Regions from separate parts of the Homo sapiens genome. Here all the other regions are linked to region 3. Evidence: promoter capture Hi-C in 16 types of primary human blood cells and fetal thymus (Javierre and others, 2016). All regions are on one chromosome and are shown on one strand. The core of a region is centred on a gene start or on the middle of the fragment in contact, and the rest is flanking DNA. Distances in the headings are between cores, read along the strand shown.

Region 1 (2,885 bases), core at 28-2,527, 260 kb before region 3:
AACATCTGTTGGGACCTTTGTTATCTCCAGGTAACTTCTGATCTCATAAAGAACACACTCAAAGGCTACCCACATCACCATTTGCTGCAAAAGAACAGAAATCCTTTACAATGCTCTGTAGCCACATTATTTGGTAGACCAAAGTAACAAGGCCCAGACACATGTTATTCCCATGGTTTCAAAGCCTCTTTGGCCTTTAGCGGTTTTCCCTCAGCCTGCCCACAATCCCACTCCTTATTAGAACTTTCCTACTCCATTTTTCCCCCCCTTTCTCTTTAAAAACAGCCTTGTAGCATTCCATAAAGGTTTCTTATAAATGATAAATACTGTAATGTTGGGGACAGAAAATGGGCTCAGACCTGAATTGAATCCCTAACTCCACTACTTGCTGTGTGACCTTGGTCAAGTTACTTTACCTCTGTAAGCTTCATGATCCTCTCCATGCAGGGTTTGAGATGATGTATATATTAAAGTACCTCATACATAGTAGTTGTTCAAATGATAGTTTCCTTTTCCTTTACCTTGAACCTAGTACTTAAATATTTGTTGAAGGAATTAACTCCTGAGGAAGGAGCTTGGGAAAGAGCCGACAGGGATTATTGCACAGGTAAGGAAAAGAAAGGAAGTATGCAAAGACAGCGTTGGGTGGGTTTTCTTGATGAGCATGACAGAAACCAAGTCAAACTTCTATCAGTTTTCCAGGGGGAGGCCCTGGGAAAAGAGGTCTCTATGGTCAGATGTCAGTAAGAGCCACCATTTGCTGAGTGCTTCTTGGGTGTCAGGGGTTGATTCATGTAAGCTGAACCACCACCCTACACAACGGATAGTATACAGTAGATAGCGTCATACTCCCCATTTTACAGGTGAAGAAACTGAAATACAAAGTTAGGCCCTTGCCCACATCATGCCTTAGTAATGATGTAAAGGTAGCTTTGAATCAAATCTGATTACAGCTCTTCTTTCCTGCAGGACTTCTCAGCCTTGAATGTTCAAATGTATACTTTGACTCTCAAAGAGGAGTGAAGGTGTAACATTTTCCCAATTTATTTGACCACAGAATCCTGACTTTGAGGAACACTTAGTACCTTCTTAATGAACACAGTGTTCCATAAAACATGGGAACCCACCAGAAATAGCCCTCAGGCCTGCCCAACTCTGAGACCTTTCACTGATGGCCAGAGAAAGTGAGGACCTTGGGAAACAAATCACACAGTCTGATATCTCCCCACATACCCAGTGGAGCCCCTGACTTACCAGAAATGGCATCAGGCTCAGGTTTGCTCCCTGGCAGATCCTCCACAGATGTGCTGCTGCCCTCAGCACCAACACCGCATCCCCGAGGCCCCATGGCACTGGAGCGCCGCCGCTCGTGGATCTCATCTGAGATCATCTCCAGGTTCTTCAGGGCCATCTTGTACTCGCCTTTTGCCAGGGTCAGTTTGGCCTGCAGGTCATCCACAGTCTTTTTCAGTTGCTGATCAAGAGAACAGGAGACTAAGTGAAGACTACCCTGCTAGCCTTAAGATGCTTTCTGAATGACAGGTTCAAGTACATTTTCTGCCCATCATTCTACTTCAAGGAATTTTCCAAGACATGACTGAAGACCTAATTACCATTGTAACTGCTATTCATTCACCAGACAAAATCAGCCACCACCATCCCCAGATCCCATCCAGGTGACAACCTCTAATATCCAAAAACTCTCACTGGTGGAACAAACCCCATCAGGGAAGCAAAAATGGGCATCAGACACACCAAAGTCCCACAGTCTAGACATCTGGTTCCCAGTACAGTGGTTCTCAAAGTTGAGCTTGCATCAAAATCCCCTTGGGTGTTAAGACTCAGCTCACTAGACTCCAACCTCAGAGTTTCTAATTCAGTCGGTCTAGAGTGGGACCTGGTCTATCAGGTCTCCAGGTGATGCTGATGCTGCTGGTCCTAAGAGCATGCTGTGAGAACCACTGGCCTAGTACAACAGAGAAGGTGACTGAATGGCAGTTACAGAGGTTCAGAGACCACTGAAGACCCAACCGAGACAATTTTGAGGTCTGAAAACTCAGTAAAGCCTGTCTCTCCACTTTCCCCTTATAGCAAGTGGCCCATGTGATACTCTGCTACCCCAGAAAAGTGAAGCTTTGAGTGCAGAAAAATCTCATCAGTGACGAAGCCCAAAGCTACACATACCTCGAGCTGCACATAGTACTTTGCCTTGAGTTCAAAATAAGGCCTGCAGAAGACAGGAAGGAAAGCCATCAGAGTAATATAATACAGTGACCACAGTCAACTCCACAAGATGAACAAGAGGCATCAGCTACCACTGGCCAGGTCGTCCTTCCAATATTTAGTAAACTCTTAACAAGGCCGTGACATGTCAGTGATGCTCCTAGCTCTGGAGACTGACAGACACCAGATGGAACGACTGGGCTCACCCAGGGCTATATTAACAGGAGGCCCATCTCAAGACACGGGGAACCCACACACACATATCTTGGGGACTCTGCAACTTAGCTCATGTTCCTCCTCTGTGGGAAGGCTGTTCAGAGCCTCACAGGTTATACCCAGCAGTAAGGGTGGCCTGGATCTGCTCTCCTAATGAAGTTGGCTCCCCAGGGATGAAGAGCAGCTGAGGCTGGAGAAGGGGCTGCTTAAACCTCCTCCTCTACTGAAGTCAACTGGGGAAGAGAGAGAAGCACCACTCCTCCCTCACAGCACAGCAAGGCCACCACTAGGAGGGGGTCTCAGGTTGGTCCTCCCAAACCTTGTCCAAAGACTGGAGTTATTAGTTGGCTGACTCAGCCACATAATGGGCCCAAGAAATGCCAGCGTCCTAGCAGTTCCCTTGGTTCTGGGTCAGCTGAAAGAGCTTGGCTCTTTTTTAGGAACTT
Region 2 (2,902 bases), core at 14-2,513, 370 kb before region 3:
TAGTGACTGGCTTGCAACCAACAGCATGAGAAAGCCATGTTACAGCCTGACTTCTGAGGCTGGGTCATGAGCCTTGCAGCTTCAGCCTTGGCCTCTTGGAGCACTCACTCTCAGGACAGACCCTCCCTGCTGGAGTACTTCCTGTCGGTTCCAGCTCCACCTGTCCTTGTGCAGTTCCAGCTAAGACGCCAGAGCAGCAGACATGTGAGAAGGGGCAGTGGGTCCTCCAACTCCTGCTTCTAGAGCCCAGACGGTCTAGTCTGAGACTAGTCAACCCAGCTGAGACCCCAGGCATGGAAGAAAGAGGCCCCTCTTTTGCTTCTTTTTCAGTGTCCCTACCCACGGAGTCTGTGAACATAATAAAATGATTATTTTACACAACTAAGTTGTGAGAGCTGTGGGGGACAGTGGGACTGTAAGTTATGGGTAACTGGAACAATGATTTAGTTATTTGTTCTTGTACACTTTCAACTTGAACTTCCAAATTTATGGGCCCCATTCTGAAACTGGTCTACATCTGCACAGAGATGTCTCTGCTGTTGAGTAGACCAATCTGACCAGCTTTTCAAGCCAACAACATTAAAAGCCATTCAGAGGACAACACATTGTGAAGTCGCCTTCTCTTGTGAGAAATGCATTAAAAAGAAACTAAGACCTACTAGAGTTGTTCTGTCAAATACAGGGGCTATTGAGCACTTGAAATGTGTCTGGTCCAAACTGAGATGTGCCTTCAGTGTAAAGTAACATTTAGAAGATAGTGTATAGAAAGAGTAAGATGTCTTATTAATTTTTATATTAATTACTAATGAAATGATAATATTTTAGATATATTGAGATAAATAAAATATATTATTAAAATTAACTTCACCTGTTTCTTTTTACTTTCTTTAAGATAGCTGCTATAAAATTTAAAATTATAAATGTCACTTGCACTATATTTCTAGCCCTGTACTAAAGGGTCTTTACAAAATATCTTGGTTTTATAATGTTGGCACAGTAAAGAAGGGGGACAAAACCATCTTTCACTCCAGACAGACAAGAATTTGCTTTATCCTGTTTGTCTGAAATTGGAGTCAATGGTCCTAATGGGTGGGATAGACCTTATGTCATTCTCCTAACATTGACTGGGCTCATTGAACCACAGACCAGGCAGAAAAAATAAAATAACACTTAAAGGACATTTTAAAACATAATAAAAATGGGAAGGAATATTTTCATTATTTCTAAATAAAATAGCAAAAATCCATCAATCATGTTCCTGAATGAATTTCTAACACCTAAGACTGTGCTTACTGAGGAAAAATAAATAGAAAAGTTGAGCAATTATCTTGTAAACGTAAAGAAATGTGACTCCATCTCAAAACAAAAAACAAAAAAACAAGAAATAGATGAGCTTACATGGGTCTCAGCAGCTACATTTTCCTCTGATTTCTGCTTATTTTCCAACACCCTAAATGTTCAGAATAATAAAACAATGTGCCACTCTAAGTGGAGCAATGACAACATAGATACCAATGGTTCAGAAAGCATGGTCAAAGGGCCCCTCGTGTTTCCAAGATCCTTTTGGGAGGGTCACAAAGTTAAAGTTATTTTTCCAATTACACCAAAATGTCTTTTTTTTTTTTTTTCATTCTTATTCTCTCCCAAGTTGTGGTAAAGTTATCAAGAAGCCACATGGCAAGTGACATCACCACAGACTGAATACAGAGACAGATTGGAAATCCAGCTGCCTTCCAGTAAGCTAAATATGCTAAACAATGCTACTTTCTCACTAATATTTTTTGTTTGGGAAAATACAGTTATTTTTCATAAAGAAATATGTCATGAATGTTAACTTTAGTGAGTTTATTGTTGTTATTTTGAAATAAGATAAACAATTTTTAATATTCTTAGTTCTAATTTCTAATTTGGTAAATAATAATACATGGAAACCACATAAACAAAAGCTCTTCAAGGTTCCCAATAATCTTTTAAGAGTGTAAAGGTTGAGAGGTGCAGGAAATTGAGAGATTTTGGTTAAAAGGTACAATCTTTCAGTTATAAGTGAGTAAGTTCAGGAGTTCTAATGTACAAGATGGTAATTATAGTTAATAGCACTATATAATATACTAGAAATTTGCTAAAAGAGTAGATGTTAAATGTTCTCGCCACATACAAAAAAATGGTAACTATATGAGGTGATGGACATATTAACTGACTTGATTCTAGTATCATTTCACAATGTATACATATATATCAACTCATTATATTGTACATCTCAAATTATACAATTCTATTTGTCAATTATACCCCAATAAAGTTGGGGTGGGGGGAAGAATATAATGTTATCCTTAGGCCAAAATGTTTGAGAACCAGTGGTATATACATGAATCAACCTTAAAATAGGCACCAGTGGGGCAAAGTGGTTTTCCATAATTTAAAATTAACTAAAAACCATGGGATTTAAAAATCCTTCTGGCATTTGTATTATGTAATAAAGATGGTCCCTATCACATCCCAGTCCCCTAGCTCACAATTCTCTCTATAATATACATTTTCTCCACAGACAATGACATGACTAATAGATAACTTCTGTTTGCCCAGCATATCCCCAGGGGTGTGTCCAGAGTTATGTGCAAGCCATTGGTGGCTAACTATAACTCCCACATTCTCAGCCACATAGGGAAGCATCTGAATGACCTGTAGTAAGAATAGTCTTAGATTCTCTTCAGTTATTTTGTTAACCATTTACAAATATAGATAGCTTAGTAATAGTAACAAATTGTCTGCAATTTAGCTCATGATTAACAACTACTTTGACATCCCTGCACACTAGACACAGACCACATTTTCAGTTAGTTCAAATTCACTGATTAAAAAATAAAACAGCCATAATGAATCATTAATGCATTCCAGAAACTGT
Region 3 (2,958 bases), core at 286-2,785:
GGGGAATGAATAATGACTACTCACTCCTAGAAGAAGCTTGATGCTCTTAACTTGAATTTGCAGGGGCATGTGGGCACACACCCACGGTGACACCACCACTCACCTTTCCTGCCCACCCTCCTGAATTCTCCACAAATCTGCCCCCACCTCCTTCTGTTTCTCACACTTTTATAATTAGCCTCACACCAGTCTCTGAGTCACTCCCTCATGGCCCACAAACGTTGGCTACACAACTTGCTGATGAGCTGTTTTTATCAATGGACAGCAGTTGGGAGCTGGATTCAGAGATGTGCCCTCTCTGAGAGCCTGGCATTTCTGGCCCTCCCTGTGTTTCCAGCAAAGGCAGCGATAGTGAAATTTCTGTCTCAGTTGAAGTATTTATGAGACTCATGTTGGAGGCATAACTAAAACTTTGCTGGGGAGAGTCAGGGGTCACTGAGGTGAATTGAGGGGGGCTGTGAGGGTCTGCCTGCCTCCTTCAAGCCCTCCGGAAACATTTGAGTTTCCTCAGAAAGGTTTAAATAGGCCATACTAGTAACCGAATACTTCCCCTGCTCTGGGTCAGACAAGACAAGGGCAACAGGCTGCTGACCTCAGAAAAGGTTGCAGGCTGGCAGACACAGCCCCTTCCCCAAATCTCCCAGCCTCATACCCGGCAGACACACTCAGCTCCAGACCTGGCTGTCACTGTGGAACCCCCTCCACTTCTCCCTGGAAAGCTCACTTCTCTCAGGACCTCCAGCTGCCTTGTCTGAGGCTGAAGGGAAGTCGCACCCAGGAAGACAGGTCTGGAGAAAGGGAAAACCTAGTCCTGAGGCTGCAACTGCCCCGCCGCTGTTCACCCCCCACCCCACCGGCCCCTGCCACCTGCATTTTCCCTTCGAGGGACTATTGTGGCCATGGATGCTATCTGGGTCTGGAAAGAGGTTTGTTTACTCCACAACAGCCCCTGTGAGGCAAGCCCCCTTCGAAGAGGTCAGAGATGTATTTATAGAAACATCTGAGACTCACTTCTCTATTACTTGCACACCTCTGTCTCTTTTAAGCTCTCCCAAATTCCTGACCAAGATGAAATCATGCAGCAAATGGGGAGAATAGGGGAGGCAGAAACCATTTTTCAAAGTGTCTCTGCTTTGAGCAGCCAGGTAGGAGCCGGTTGGAACAAGGACAGAAGGGGCTTCCGAGACAAGCTCGGGTGACAGGAAGCTGCTGGGGTGGCCGTCTTCCTTCCAACCTCCCTCCACCAACAGTTGAATGGCAAAAACATCAGGACACATTGCAAAACAATCTTCCTTCCTCCCCCTGTCCCCTGACAGATGGAAGAGAGGAAAGTTGTGGCCATCATTTACCTGCTGAGATTGGAAGAACGCTGTTGATGAAAGTCGGCTGAGACACGATAGAGAGGAAGAAAAGCTGAAGATAAATTCCCAAAGTCATTGGATTCAGGACAACCATGCTGGCCAGGGTCTGGCGAGGGTCAAGTTAGAAAGGAGGCTGCTGCGGAGCCTTGCTTATCTCTGCTTTTCTCTTCCTCACTGCTGTTTGCGTGCGCGTGTGTTTGTGTGTGTGTGTGTGCGTGTGTGTGTGTGTCTGTGTGTGTGTGTGTCTTTCCCTCTTTCTCTTTCCCTCTCCCTCCTCCTCACCCCCTCCCTCTCTCTCCCTCCCCCACCTCTCCTGTCTCCCATGCCTTTACCAAGAAAGAATGCCAACCATTTCCCATTAAACTGTCTCCATGCTACAGAGAGTTATATTTATCTCAAGCTCCATATCAAATGCCCACATTAAAATTAAGATGTCAAAATTTTCTTTTTTGGAGACTGAGGTAAGTGGCTAGTGAAGAGGTGATGAGAAGGCAGCCAAGTCTCAGATGTTCACTGGAGGCAGTCCTCAAGGGCAGAGAGATTCCTAATTGGTTATGTGCCACCATCTACCTCCTTGGAACTGGGCAGAAACAACTCTCCTGATTCAAACTGAATTTCATGGAGAAAAACCCCTCCACTGTCAGCCTGTGACATTTTTACCCATTGTGTAACAAATGTAAAGTTAACTTTTAATTTTTTTCTTTAATCATCCAATAAAAAGGAGGAAGGAAGTAGTTTATATTTCCAAACAGCTTTCTCTGTGAAAAAGTGTTTCTCTCTCCAAAAGCTGCAACCTTTTGATTCAATGCAAGGCAAAATAAATGAAAACAGTAAAAGTATAGAAAAGTGAATGATTTTTATCAAACTATATTCAGAAAAATAACATCACTAACTTAATCTTTGGCTAGACAAAATTATTCAAATAAAAATTATCACATTCTTAATACCTTTTATGAGTTTATAAAAGCCTGTTATAGAGATGATTAGATGACTAAAACAAAATAATAATTCACAGAGTTGTTCATTTTGCTTTAATTTACATATTACATGCCTCATAGGAGTTAACTCAGAAACAGTCTGCTAGTTACTGGATGCTGGGGTGGGCATCCTGCCCCTGTGCTCATTATGGGGAAGGTGGAGTTGGGTCAGGGCGTGGTATAAAGTGATATTTTACAGCTGTAGCACCACACTTGGGCTTGACTCTCAGCTCTGAGTGGCAGTGGACAAGCTCACCTCTCTAAGCCTCAGTTTTCTCATCCATACAATGGAGACAATGTTCCCTTTAAAGGTTTGTTGGAAAGTTAAGTGAGGTAATGGGGATGAATCCTACACGGATTAGAACTTGCACATAGGAACAGCACAAAGGAGACCCAAGGGAGCCATGGTAGCCTGGGTGCAAAGATGGCCTCCAAAAGTCCTCCCAACCCAGTGTGTGCATGACACTCTTCCCAGCAAAAAGCAGGGCTAGTTCCCCTCCCTTAAATCTGAGGTGGCTCTGTGACTTACTTTGACCAATAGAATGTGGCTAAAGGGACACTGTGCCATCTCCTGGCCTAGGCCTTAAAAGGCCTGGCAGCTCCTGCTTTTGCCTTTTCTT
Region 4 (2,780 bases), core at 275-2,774, 310 kb before region 3:
GAAAAAATAACTGAGTATCTGGAAAGAGTTCAAGCTCTACATTCAGCAGGTTAGTAAAGGACTACTAAACTTGTCACTCTATTTTTTCTTTTCTCCCATCATGTCTTTCCCCCATGTTTGTTTCTCTTCTTCATTTTTATCTTTGAATCTTGATGCTCACTCTGTTGCTGCTCATTCCACTTTTGGTAATCACCTCTTTAAAAGTCATTTAGAAATAAGTCATAGATCTTTGAAGAGGAACCTTATAGACAATATAGTCCAGTTTCCTAATTTCCCAGAGTGCAGAGATGGTGAATTACCTATGTTCAAACAATTTATCATTGGCAAAGTTAGGATTAGGATTCAGTTAAAGTCTGCTTTTAAAATATCTGTCACGTCTCTTCCTTATAAAATTAAGTGACTGTTCCTCTTCAGTGTTTACAGACTTCAGCAGTAGGTTCACAGTGTCTTCTCTTTCGGTGTCTTCTACTTTCAGACCTTTGCTAAACTCTTTAAAACCATATCTTGGGAAAGTGACATGTAAACAGAGACTTGGAACTACTTGTATTTATTTTTGTAAACAGCACAACAGGTACAATAATAGAAATATATAGTCTTAATGGTCACAGTTTTGTTAGAGGTAACTGATGTTGACATTGTATTTACAAATACATTGATTTCTGTAGGGATTCTTTTTAACCCTCTTTTTCTGTTGCTGCATGATAAAGCGCCAAGCAGAAGAATATTTATTCTCATGGACTTTGTGTAACTTTCTACCACTCATTTTGAGTAGATACGAGCAATTACAAGAACATCGTTGGGATAAAGTAGATTTAATCATTGGATTCCTTGTTATGACAGTTCCCTTAAAAACAAGGCGGTTTACTTTTAATACAGTGCCCAGAAATTGCATGTATTGAAAAGTGTACTGCCTGTGTTATTGGAACCTCACTTGATACAAAGTATTGATTCATGTATTCAAAATATCATATAAAATTCAAAGGAACTTTCTTTTCCCAGCCAAGTAAATGAAGTTCTTAAATTTAACTGCCCAATATTAGGAACTTTGTTTCATAACCAGTGTTTTCAAATAAAATTATCTTTGAAGTAGGGAAGGTAGTCTTTCATGTTTACTTCCATGATCTCCTTGTTTTTTCATAGATAGTTTTCTTCATTTCAATAACTATGTATTGAATACATGTTTGGGCTCTATGGTAAGTACAGGGTAATAGATGAGTGACAGTCCATGTCCTCAGGAGGACTTCATCAGGTGTGGAGAGAGAACAGTGTCAACATTGCACTATCATGGAAACCCCTTTCTGAAGCATGCTAGACTAAATGTTAAAGCAGAATGCTCTAGAAAGGAGAGATTATATGGTGATATTATTCCAGGAGTAGAATCTCTGGCAGCCTAAGGTATATTTCCATCTTTCTTTTCCATATGTACACACAGTCAAGCACATTTATGCCCTAGGGTCTTGATTCCAGTAAGATTGCTCTTTAAACCCTTGAAATCCTTGTGACAATTGGAAAAAATAAATATGAATCATTTTTTTCTAAGGAATTTTAAAAATTATTCTTACTTTATATTAAATACAGCTAAGCCTAAAAACTTACATGTGATTTTTGGGAAATAAATTCTAAACATTGATATATATGTGATATTCAAGCATCAAATGAGACACCCCAATCTCTTGAAGAATAAAGACTTGCCAGTGAAATAGAGTTCAAAAAGGATTTTTTTTTTTTTTTTTTGAGGTGGAGTCTCGTTCTGTCTTCCAGGCTGGAGTGCAGTGGCGCGATCTCAGCTCACTGCCAAGTTCCGCCTCCGGGGTTCACGCCATTCTCCTGCGTCAGCCTCCCCAGTAGCTGAGACTACAGGCGCCTGCCACCACACCCAGCTGATTTTTTATATTTTTAGTAGAGACAGGATTTCACCATGTTAGCCAGGATGGTCTCGATCTCCTGACCTCGTGATCCACCCGCCTCGGCCTCCCAAAGTGCTGGGATTACAGGCGTGAGCCACCATGCCTGGCCTTAAAAAGGATTTTTAAAGCATAACATAGCTTGTTTTACCAACTTCTTTCTGCTTTTGTTGAAGAAATGGAGTATAATCTCTAGACAATTTAAAGGATTTTCTTATTTATTATTTTAAGCAGAAAAGTCCTTTTTCAAATAAAAATCCTGTTAGGAACCCTAAGTTTTAAAACAAGATAGTCTGCTGACAGTTAAGAGAATCCTGAGAGAGAGTTGATTTTGGGGTGGGGAAAGGTAACATAATTTAAAATTAACCAGTATAGGCCGGCACAGTGGCTCATGCCTGTAATCCCAGCACTTTGGGAAGCTGAGGCAGGAGAATCCCTTGAATCTAGGAGTTCAAGATCAGCCTAGGCAACATAGACTTCACCCCTACAAAAATTGAAAAAATTTGCTGGGCATGGTGGTGTGTGCCTGTAGTCCCAGCTCCTCAGAGGTTGAGGCAGGAAGATTGCTTGAGCCCAGGAGGTTGAGGCTGCACTGACCCGTGATTACACCACTGCCCTCAGCCTGGATGACAGAGTAAGACCCTGTCTCGAAAAATAAAAAGTAAAATTAACCGTCGTAGTACAGAGTTCAAGACTTGGAATTAAAAGATCCCTGTTGAGTCTCTACCCTTTCACTTGTAGCTGTGAAATCTTAGACTAGATCAATGGGTCTCAGTAGAAAGCAATTTGCCCCCCAGGGGACATTTGGCAATTTCTGGAGAAGTTTTTGGTTTTCACGCTGCTGGGTGGCAAGGAATATGCTTCTGGGATTTAGCT
Region 5 (2,701 bases), core at 88-2,587, 330 kb before region 3:
CTCAAAAGAAGACATTTATGTGGCCAAGAAACTATGAAAAAAAGCTTATCATCACTGGTCATTAGAGAATGCAAATCAAAACCACAATGAGATACCACCTCATGCCAGTTAGAATGGCGATCCTTAAAAAGTCAGGAAACAACAGATGCTGGAGAGGATGTGGAGAAATAAGGATGCTTTTACACTGTTGGTGGGAGTGTAAATTACTTCAACCACTGTGGAAGACAGTGTGACAATTCCTCAAGTATCTAGAACCAGAAATACCATTTGACCCAGCAATCCCATTACTGGGTATATACCCAAAGGATTATAAATCATTCTACTATGAAGACACATGCACATGTATGTTTATTGCAGCACAATTCATAATAGCAAAGACTTGGAACCAACCCAAATGACCATTAATGATAGATTGGATAAAGAAACTGTGGCACATATACCCTATGGAATATTATGCAGCCATAAAAAGAATGAGTTCATGTCCTTTGCAAGGACATGGATGAAGCTGGAAACCATAATTCTCAGCAAACTAACACAGGAACAGAAAACCAAACACTGCATGTTCTCATTCATAAGGTGGAGTTGAATAATGTGAATACATGGACACAGGGTGGGGAACATCATACACCAGGGCCTGTTGCGGGGTGGGGGGCTAGGGGAAGGAGAGCATTAGGAGAAATACCTAATGTAGACGACGGGTTGATGGGTACACCCAACCACCATGGCACATGTATACCTATGTAGCAAACCTGCACATTCTGCACATGTATATCCCAGAACTTAAAGTATAATAAAATAAATAAATAAATAAATAAATAAATAATAAAAACACAAAAAATCATAATGGATGGTTACTCTGCTCACTACCTAGGTCCAATGTACCCATGTAACAATCCTATACATGCATCCCTTGTATCTGAAATAAAAGCTGAAAACTTTTTTAAAAGTACACATACAAAAATTTTAAAAAGCTTAAGAACAACAACAATGAAAAAAAAAAACCATAACGTGGAAATTCTGGATTGCATTCAGAGACTGTGTAGATGGAATGGAAGTCTGAGCTGGTGGAACTGCTCTCAAGACAGGCGTAGTTTTATTTTGAGCTGAAAAGGTTCCGGCTTGAGTAGTAGCCATCCTGTTGATGTTTTAAATTCTACTCATACTAATATGGTTCCCTGTGCCTGGGAAAAACTGTGTATAAACCAACACAATTTCCACTTGTTGTGTAATAGGAATATCTGCTACAGCAAAATTTCTTTTGAAAAGGGAGAAAACAATCTTATTTTCTATTTCTACTGAATAAACCAGCTTGCAATCATCTGAAAAGAATAAACTTCCTTAATTTGATGCCATTATACATTTAACCTTTGGGAATTTGTGAAGTGGAAGCACTTTCAAGTTCCTGCTCTGGAAGAGGACTGTGAATACTATTTTAGCCATCAGCCACGTAGAAGCTGTAACTACTAAAACAATGCAAATTATGTCATCCAGTCCAAGGTGTCTAGATGATAAGAGCAAGGTACAAGTGAGTGGCATTTTATGATTTAGCCTCATAAGTTAGATGGTAGCACTTCCACTATACACTATTAGTCAAGGCAGTCACAAAGTTATGTCCAGGATGCATGGTAGGGGACAAAGATCCTACCGCTTAAAAGAAGGGACATGAAGATACCCTTGTAAGGAGATCACGTGGGATGTAAGATAAAGCTTTTGGCCTATTTGTAAAATACAGTCTGCCACAGTTTGCTTTCTGGCCATATTTCTCATGCCTCCCACATGCAAAATACATTCAAATCACACCCCTAGAATTCTCAAGTCTCAAACTATTAAAACATCAGCTTGAAGTCCAGGAGCTTGTCATCTAAATCAGGTTCAGGTGAAGATGAGATGCCTTGGTGTGGTTCATTTGGGTGCAGCTCCTTAAATATCACTCCTTTTGATTAGAGCTCTGTTAAAGAGACAATCTGCACCCCCCCCCCCGCCCACACACACACCCAACGCACAGTGATAAGAGGCATAAGATGATCCCTATAGGAAAATCCTACTCGAAAGGGAGGAAGAGGCAAGCACACTGCAATAATCTAGAAAAATTCTGAAATGCAGTTTGGTATATGCTTCCAGTTCCTTATCAAGATTCAGTCCTACTGTCTGGGAGTTCTCTGTGAATTTCAAATTCCAAAACACATCTGGCTTAAGGGTGCAGTAAAGGATTGTGAAGCTGCACTCAGAGACTATAAGAAAAAGATGTGATAAACACTCCCATTGCCTATCAATGACTGAGCTCTTCAGAGGATGCTGTTGTTGCTTCTGTTTCCCAAGATGATCAGAGTTCAGGAAGTGGAATTCCAAGCAGCTCAGAGGTAAATGAGATAAGGGTTAAATGGTTCTGTAACCATTTCTTCTGCCCCTGCACTGACAGATTATCCCAAAAGAACACAGTCATGAAGAGTAAAGAGCACAGTCAAGTGTTGCAGGACATAACTTTGTCAAATACTTCATATGTGCCAGGTGTTGTGCTAAAGGCTTTACTGGCATTATCTCATTCAATCCTTCTAAAACTTTATGAGGTAGTTACTAATCTACCTATTTTACAGATGAGAAAAATTGAGGCTTAGAGATATTAATCAGTGTGCTGAAGGTTTGCAAAGTTAGAAAATGGTAACAAAATTGTGAAATGACTTTCTCCATCAATTTGCTTGTT
Region 6 (2,987 bases), core at 408-2,907, 280 kb before region 3:
TCATTATATGGTGCATGACTGTATATGAAGTTAATGAGGACAGTAGGGACCTATTGCACCATTTTAAAATTTATAGTCTTGGAACTTTCTAAATTAGCTGGTCAGTGTTGAACCCCCCAGCCATGCTCTATAGAATTGCTTCTTTAAAAGTGGCATAAAAATTGCCCACTTAAAGCAAAAAATATAAAAATTATGTGAAATTAAGTACGCCAATAAGTTTGGGGTTTTTTAAAATTATAATTTGCCACAAATGCCAGTCAAAACATTTTAAGTGGCTGGGCACCGTGGGTCACCCCTATAATCCTAGCACTTTGGGAGGCTGAGGCAGGAGGAATGCTTGAGGCCACGAGTTCAAGACCAGCCTGAGCAACATAGCAAGACCCCATCTCTACAATAAATAATTTTTTAAAAAATTAGCTGGGCATGGTGGCACGTGCCTGTAGTCCCAGCTAATTGGGAGGCTGAGGTAGGAGGATCACTTGAGCCCAATGTTGCAGTGAGCTGAGATCACACCACTGCACTCCAGCCTAGTTGACACAGTGACACCCTGCCTCAAAAAATGTATATTTATATATAAAGGTTTTCTCCAGTACTCTTTTATTGGGTATATATTCAAGGAGTTTCCTAGGTGCATTATTTTTATTTTTTATTTTTTGCTACTTATATTTTGAAGTGTTTATTTAATTCTGACTTCTTTTTTTTTTTTTTTTTTTTTTTTTGAGACAGTCTCACTGTGTCGCCCAGGCTGGAGTGCAGTGGCGCGGTCTCAGCTCATTGCAAGCTCCGCCTCCCAGGTTCATGCCATTCTCCTGCCTCAGCCCCCCAAGTAGCTGAGACTACAGGCGCCCCACCACCACGCCCGGCCAATTTTTTATATTTTTAGTAGAGACAGGGTTTCTCCACGTTAGCCAGGATGGTCTCGATCTCCTGACCTCATGATCCACCCACCTTGGCCTCCCAAAGTGCTGGGATTACAGGCGTGAGCCCCCACGCCTGGCCAATTCTGACTTCTGTTTTAAAATATTTCCATATTTGATTCAAGCATTTATCTCTAGGACCTCTTTTTTGCAGAAAGACCTAATCTTAGACTCTGACAGCTCTGCTCAGTATTACATCATTGGTGACTTTCTTCACTTAAAGAGATTTTCAATATTTATTAATATTTGCATAAAAGTGCTATCATTTTTGTTTGACTACCTCTAATCTGCTTGCATATTCCAAGGTCTTCATTTTAGTCTCAGCGATTCTCTCTTTGGGTCATTTTTGTGTTTTTGAGGTGATGTTTCATAGTCTACTATGGAGTTACATCTCCAGATCAGGGTGCTGACTTCAGTTCAGACAGGTGTTATCATAGAATTTCTGAAGCTGTCCAAGGCTTTTCCTTTGCTGCTACTTGGAAATAACTTTAGAAATTGGATGCTTCAGCAAAATCAAATTTTTTTTTTTTTTTTTTTTTTTTGTTCTCTAGCATTCCTTCTTTTTAGAGCTGGTTCTCTACCCATCCAAACAAAATCTACATCCATATCTTGGTGTCCTTGAATATCACTGATGCTGGGGGTCTGTCTCTGAAAAGCTTAGCAACAATTTGCTCTCCTTTGTGCTCCTCTTTTAGGAAGTGTTGAGAGTCCTGAAATGAGTTAAATTTTTTGAAAAGAAAGGAATTAGAGTTAAATGTCGGTTGACTTATGTGTGGTGAGACACATACAGTGTAGAAGATACTGATGAAAGAAACTGTATTAATGAAGCTTCTAGGGAATATAGCCTAAGAGGAATGAGTCTTATGTCCAGAAATCACATACATCTACCCCCAGCCACAATTTGTCACCATTTAAAATAGCAAAGGAATGTGTTGTTGTGGTTGTTTAGATGTCTTCCAAACAGTTTGATTTATGATATCATTAGAAAAAGTACACAATTTCCTAAGGTGACTGCTTGCAGTAAGACAAATATTATTTTGGATTTACCACCTCTTTTATTTTCCCGAATCAATGTAATCAATTCTGTAGACATGCCTGGTATTTACTAAGCATTTACCTTTACATTCTGTTCCATAAATGAGTGGAAAATCTGAAAAGGGATGATAGTGTTACCATTTCAAGGAGTTGATGATTACATTGGGGAGACAAGATGACTACATTTGTAGGAAACAGTATAAGATAGGATACTATTTGTTTTAAACTAATGTAATACAGATTGCTAGCACTATGAAGGTTGGAGAATTCAAAGTAATTAAAAGAAAGAAATTACTAAATGCTAGATACTTTATGTTAATTCCATTTGATCTTCACAGCCATCTTCTAGGGACACATCATAATCTTCATTTTACATATGAGTAAATGAATGTTCAGAGAGGGTAAATGACCCACCCAAAGAACTGGAATTTGGTCCCATTTTATTCTGACCCCAAAGTCCATGTTCCTTTCTCTTTTCTTCACTATGTCTGTCTGCACTGAGAAGAAAGGGTAGCTAAAGGGATCAAAGAGGGCCTTTCAGAAAAAGGGAACAGCATGATCAATTGCCTTTAGAGGCAAAATTGAATAAGGATTTTATTGCACTCTGAAAGGAAAAACTAGATTAGAGCCAAAGGTACATGGAGTATAAATACTGGAAAATAAAGTGGAGCCAGAGTAGAGTGAGCTTTGAAAAGGCAGAAAATACTTCATGCTCTAAGGCAGTACTGTCTAATAGAACTCCTGCAATGATGGAAATGTTCTGTATCTGGGCTGCCCAATGCATTAGCCACTATAGCTACTAGCTACCTGTGGTCATTTAACATTTGAAATGTGGCTGCTGTGACTAAGGAACTGATTTTTGAATTTTATATAATTTTAACTTAACTACATGCGGTGAAAGACTGCACTATTAGCTCTAGGGAGTAGGCAGCCATTTACAGTTTTTGATCGATGTATGACCTGGTGAAAGTGTTAAAAATATTAATTTCAAGTTGATTTGAGGGGAAAAGAATTGATAAGTACTCAGTTCATCCT
Region 7 (2,817 bases), core at 108-2,607, 350 kb before region 3:
ATACCGTGGAATACTATGCAGCCATAAAAAGGAATGAGATAATGTCCTTTGCAGGGACATGGATGAAGCTGGAAGCCATCATTCTCAGCAAACTAACACAGTAGCAGAAAACCAAACACCGCATGTTCTCATTCATAAGTGGGAGTTGAACATTGAGAATAGATGGACACTGAGAGGGAAACAGCACACACCAGGGCCTGTCGGGGGGTGGTGGGTTGAGGGGAGGGAACTTAGAGGACAAGTCAATAGGTGCAGCAAACCACCATGGCACACGTATACCTACGTAACAAACCTGCACGTTCTGCACATGTATCCCATTTTTTTTTAGAAGAAATTGTTTTAAAAAAGAGTCTGAATTAAATCAGTCACCTTGTGTTAAAGCCCAGCCTCCAGGGCAAGTGGCTCTAAATTTAATCCTGTCTCCTCGGTTACTAGCAAGCTTGGCCCCCTTGCATCTCAGTTTCCTGATCTATAAAATGAGGATGTTGACACCTACTCAGTAAGCTTATTGTGAGAAGACAGTAATATCATGTAAACAGAGCAGAGCTCAGTATTAAAGATGTAGAGTTAAAAGTAGCTGGTGTTTTATTATTTTTGTCATCTAGCAGATTCCTCTAAAAAATATATGTATATATTTTCTCCACTCCCTCTCAATAAGGGCAGCCCAGCCTTGAGTTGTTAATCTCTGGATTCCCTTGGCCCCAGGAAGAGCCTTTTCATTTCTCGGCTGAAAGGGAAGTTGTCTAAGGTGGGAATTGGGCTCCCTGCTCAGGTCTTCATGTGGGAGGACCTAGGTCCATGCAATATGTGTGGCATACTTAAAAAACCCTTGTTGTTTATATGAATGAAATTCAAATGTAATTGGGTGTCCTATATTTCATCTGGCAATGCTATCCTAAAGGGGCATTCATTGGAAAGGAATGTAGCTTAAAGCGGGTAGAGAAAGGAGTCATTTACCCCATGGTAAGTGTTTGCTGAATTCTGGAGAGTAGGGGCGAAATTATGGAAAAATAAGGCAAAAACCCAAACTTTGCTGGACTCCAGCATCCACTGGTGACACATACATGGCTACCCAGCGTCAGAGAAAAGGACCACCGTGCAGGAAAGGGCATCTCTGCAGCTAGCCCCTATAGGAGCAGCCCAAGGAGGCTTCACTATAATCCAGGGCCCTTGGATTGTCAAGAGGAGCCGAGGACCCTAAATATTGCCTGCACTGTACATTCTTGTCAGTCTTAGCAGATTGGGGGAAAAGAGAAAGAGAATATTTCTTACAGTCTGGAGGTTGCCGAGCATTCACATCAATCATACACATAAAGTGCTTAGCAGAGTATCTGACACATGGCAAATGGCCAGTAAATAGTAGATATTATGATCATTGTGATCATCCAAGACAAAATTCTGGTAAAATCATCATAGCTTCTATTTACCTCTAGGCTACTCCCTTCCCCAACCCATCTAGACTTTGGGCTACTTTTTCTGATTGCAAGTTTCTTTTTAGCTTCTCTGCAGTATCAAAAAACAACAACAACAACAACTCTCAGCTCTTCATATTGTGAACTAGTAGTGCTCGTCTTCTGTCCTTCTCATCCACAGAATATAGGCAGATAGGCACACGGAAATGAAATTCACATTATAACAATTTTGTATCTCATTCCTAGAACTGAGAAAGGAACTAAAAATATAGGTCAAAGAGAAAGATAGAAATTTATTTAGATATTTCAGATTTCTAGACCTCAGCACAAGTAATCAAGAAATTACCAGATCACTCAGTGTTTAACAAGAAAAAAAGCTCAGTGATTTTCCCTTGAAAACATAATTACAGCCTTGAATTTTTACCTCAATTATGTACATTTCAACGATTCTAATTTAAATCTATGATTCTAATTTGAATCTAAGAAATACTAGCATGGGTAGACAAAAATAGATTAGAAGACAGACAGACACAAAGATTTTCATAACAGCCAGTAAGTGCCAAATCTAGGATTTAAAATTTGGGCATTCATATGCCAAAGTGCACACACTTAACCACTATGTTTTTTCTGGTGTGTGTGTTTTTTTGTTTAACTGGGTATGTAGTAGGAACTCTCCTGACCAACCTCCACTTTAGTGACTCCCAGATAAATCAATGTTCTCCCTTCCCTCTGTAAAGCATGAGTGATGCTCCCATAAAACAATGAGTGCCTGAAGTTCCGCTTCAACCAGTGAAAGAACAAGCTTACCAAGATGAAGGCGGGTTTGTCCCCAGCTTGTTTATGGCAGTTTTGTTGTTATAATTACATAATTAATCAAATATTGTGCAAATCAGCAGGATTTGAGTGTGAGTAAAAGAGATTTATTGCATCTATGAAAACCAGCTTAACTGCTTTAAAGACTCAATAAAAGAGTTATTTTTTAAAAAATTGCCAGTGTACTAGATAGCATTACAAAAGATTGCATTTTTAAGATTATAAAAATCAATAGCTATTTCTGTTTCTGTTTTGAATTGTTTCAAAAGTCACTCTCCTTTAAAGAAACTGAAACTGGAAATTATTGATAACATAACATTGGATGGTTTATAAAGAAAATACATGAAATCCAATCAGCAGGGCTCATACTCAAAGAAGCCTTGGCCCTATACCAAAAGATTGGCAAATTAACATTCATTTATATGTATTAAGTTAATTTTTTAAATTTCATGTGAGAAACAATAGTTTCTGAGAAGAAAATAAATAAATAAGAAAATAACATTTTAAAAATTCAAGTATGTTTGTATCCTTTTTAAAGTAGTTGCCTGCTTCAGTGACTTAAGATTTGATCAGTCCACACTCGGTTCCTTAG

What was found. The method cuts DNA at HindIII sites, captures the fragments that hold promoters and counts their contacts. A CHiCAGO score of 5 or more calls a contact.
Region 1: a contact is called between a fragment that was not itself captured here and the fragment with the promoter of COLQ in region 3, in 3 of 17 cell types (M1 macrophages, monocytes and M0 macrophages). The highest score is 6.4, in M1 macrophages.
Region 2: a contact is called between a fragment that was not itself captured here and the fragment with the promoter of COLQ in region 3, in 1 of 17 cell types (endothelial precursors). The highest score is 5.2, in endothelial precursors.
Region 4: a fragment that was not itself captured here is called in contact with the fragment with the promoter of COLQ in region 3 in 2 of 17 cell types (monocytes and M2 macrophages); the score reaches 7.2 in monocytes.
Region 5: a contact is called between a fragment that was not itself captured here and the fragment with the promoter of COLQ in region 3, in 5 of 17 cell types (endothelial precursors, megakaryocytes, activated CD4 T cells and 2 more). The highest score is 8.3, in endothelial precursors.
Region 6: a fragment that was not itself captured here is called in contact with the fragment with the promoter of COLQ in region 3 in 5 of 17 cell types (megakaryocytes, activated CD4 T cells, total CD8 T cells and 2 more); the score reaches 7.2 in megakaryocytes.
Region 7: a fragment that was not itself captured here is called in contact with the fragment with the promoter of COLQ in region 3 in 1 of 17 cell types (endothelial precursors); the score reaches 7.1 in endothelial precursors.

The regions. Positions count from the first base shown.
Region 1 is chr3:15,257,577-15,260,461 of GRCh38, forward strand. SH3BP5 (SH3 domain binding protein 5) reads right to left here. Exons shown (of 9, transcript NM_004844.5): 6 at 2,185-2,227; 7 at 1,255-1,474. It overlaps SH3BP5-AS1 (SH3BP5 antisense RNA 1), which reads left to right. Exons shown (of 3, transcript NR_046084.1): 1 at 1-30; 2 at 1,058-2,885. Among named protein-coding and RNA genes, the nearest start is that of SH3BP5-AS1, 4.8 kb to the left of the region's middle. The HindIII fragment of the contact is 1,708 bases long and covers 424-2,131 here.
Region 2 is chr3:15,148,744-15,151,645 of GRCh38, forward strand. No RefSeq gene overlaps it. Among named protein-coding and RNA genes, the nearest start is that of RBSN, 51 kb to the left of the region's middle. The HindIII fragment of the contact is 4,373 bases long and covers 1-2,902 here.
Region 3 is chr3:15,520,171-15,523,128 of GRCh38, forward strand. COLQ (collagen like tail subunit of asymmetric acetylcholinesterase) reads right to left here and starts at 1,536. Exons shown (of 17, transcript NM_005677.4): 1 at 1,350-1,536. The coding sequence starts at 1,455. The HindIII fragment of the contact is 3,239 bases long and covers 35-2,958 here.
Region 4 is chr3:15,212,164-15,214,943 of GRCh38, forward strand. It overlaps CAPN7 (calpain 7), which reads left to right. Exons shown (of 21, transcript NM_014296.3): 2 at 1-49. Among named protein-coding and RNA genes, the nearest start is that of CAPN7, 7.3 kb to the left of the region's middle. The HindIII fragment of the contact is 7,625 bases long and covers 1-2,780 here.
Region 5 is chr3:15,194,940-15,197,640 of GRCh38, forward strand. It overlaps the pseudogene COL6A4P1. Among named protein-coding and RNA genes, the nearest start is that of CAPN7, 10 kb to the right of the region's middle. The HindIII fragment of the contact is 736 bases long and covers 970-1,705 here.
Region 6 is chr3:15,237,415-15,240,401 of GRCh38, forward strand. All of the region lies in intron 12 of CAPN7 (calpain 7), which reads left to right. Among named protein-coding and RNA genes, the nearest start is that of SH3BP5-AS1, 15 kb to the right of the region's middle. The HindIII fragment of the contact is 172 bases long and covers 1,572-1,743 here.
Region 7 is chr3:15,166,550-15,169,366 of GRCh38, forward strand. It overlaps the pseudogene COL6A4P1. Among named protein-coding and RNA genes, the nearest start is that of CAPN7, 38 kb to the right of the region's middle. The HindIII fragment of the contact is 1,710 bases long and covers 503-2,212 here.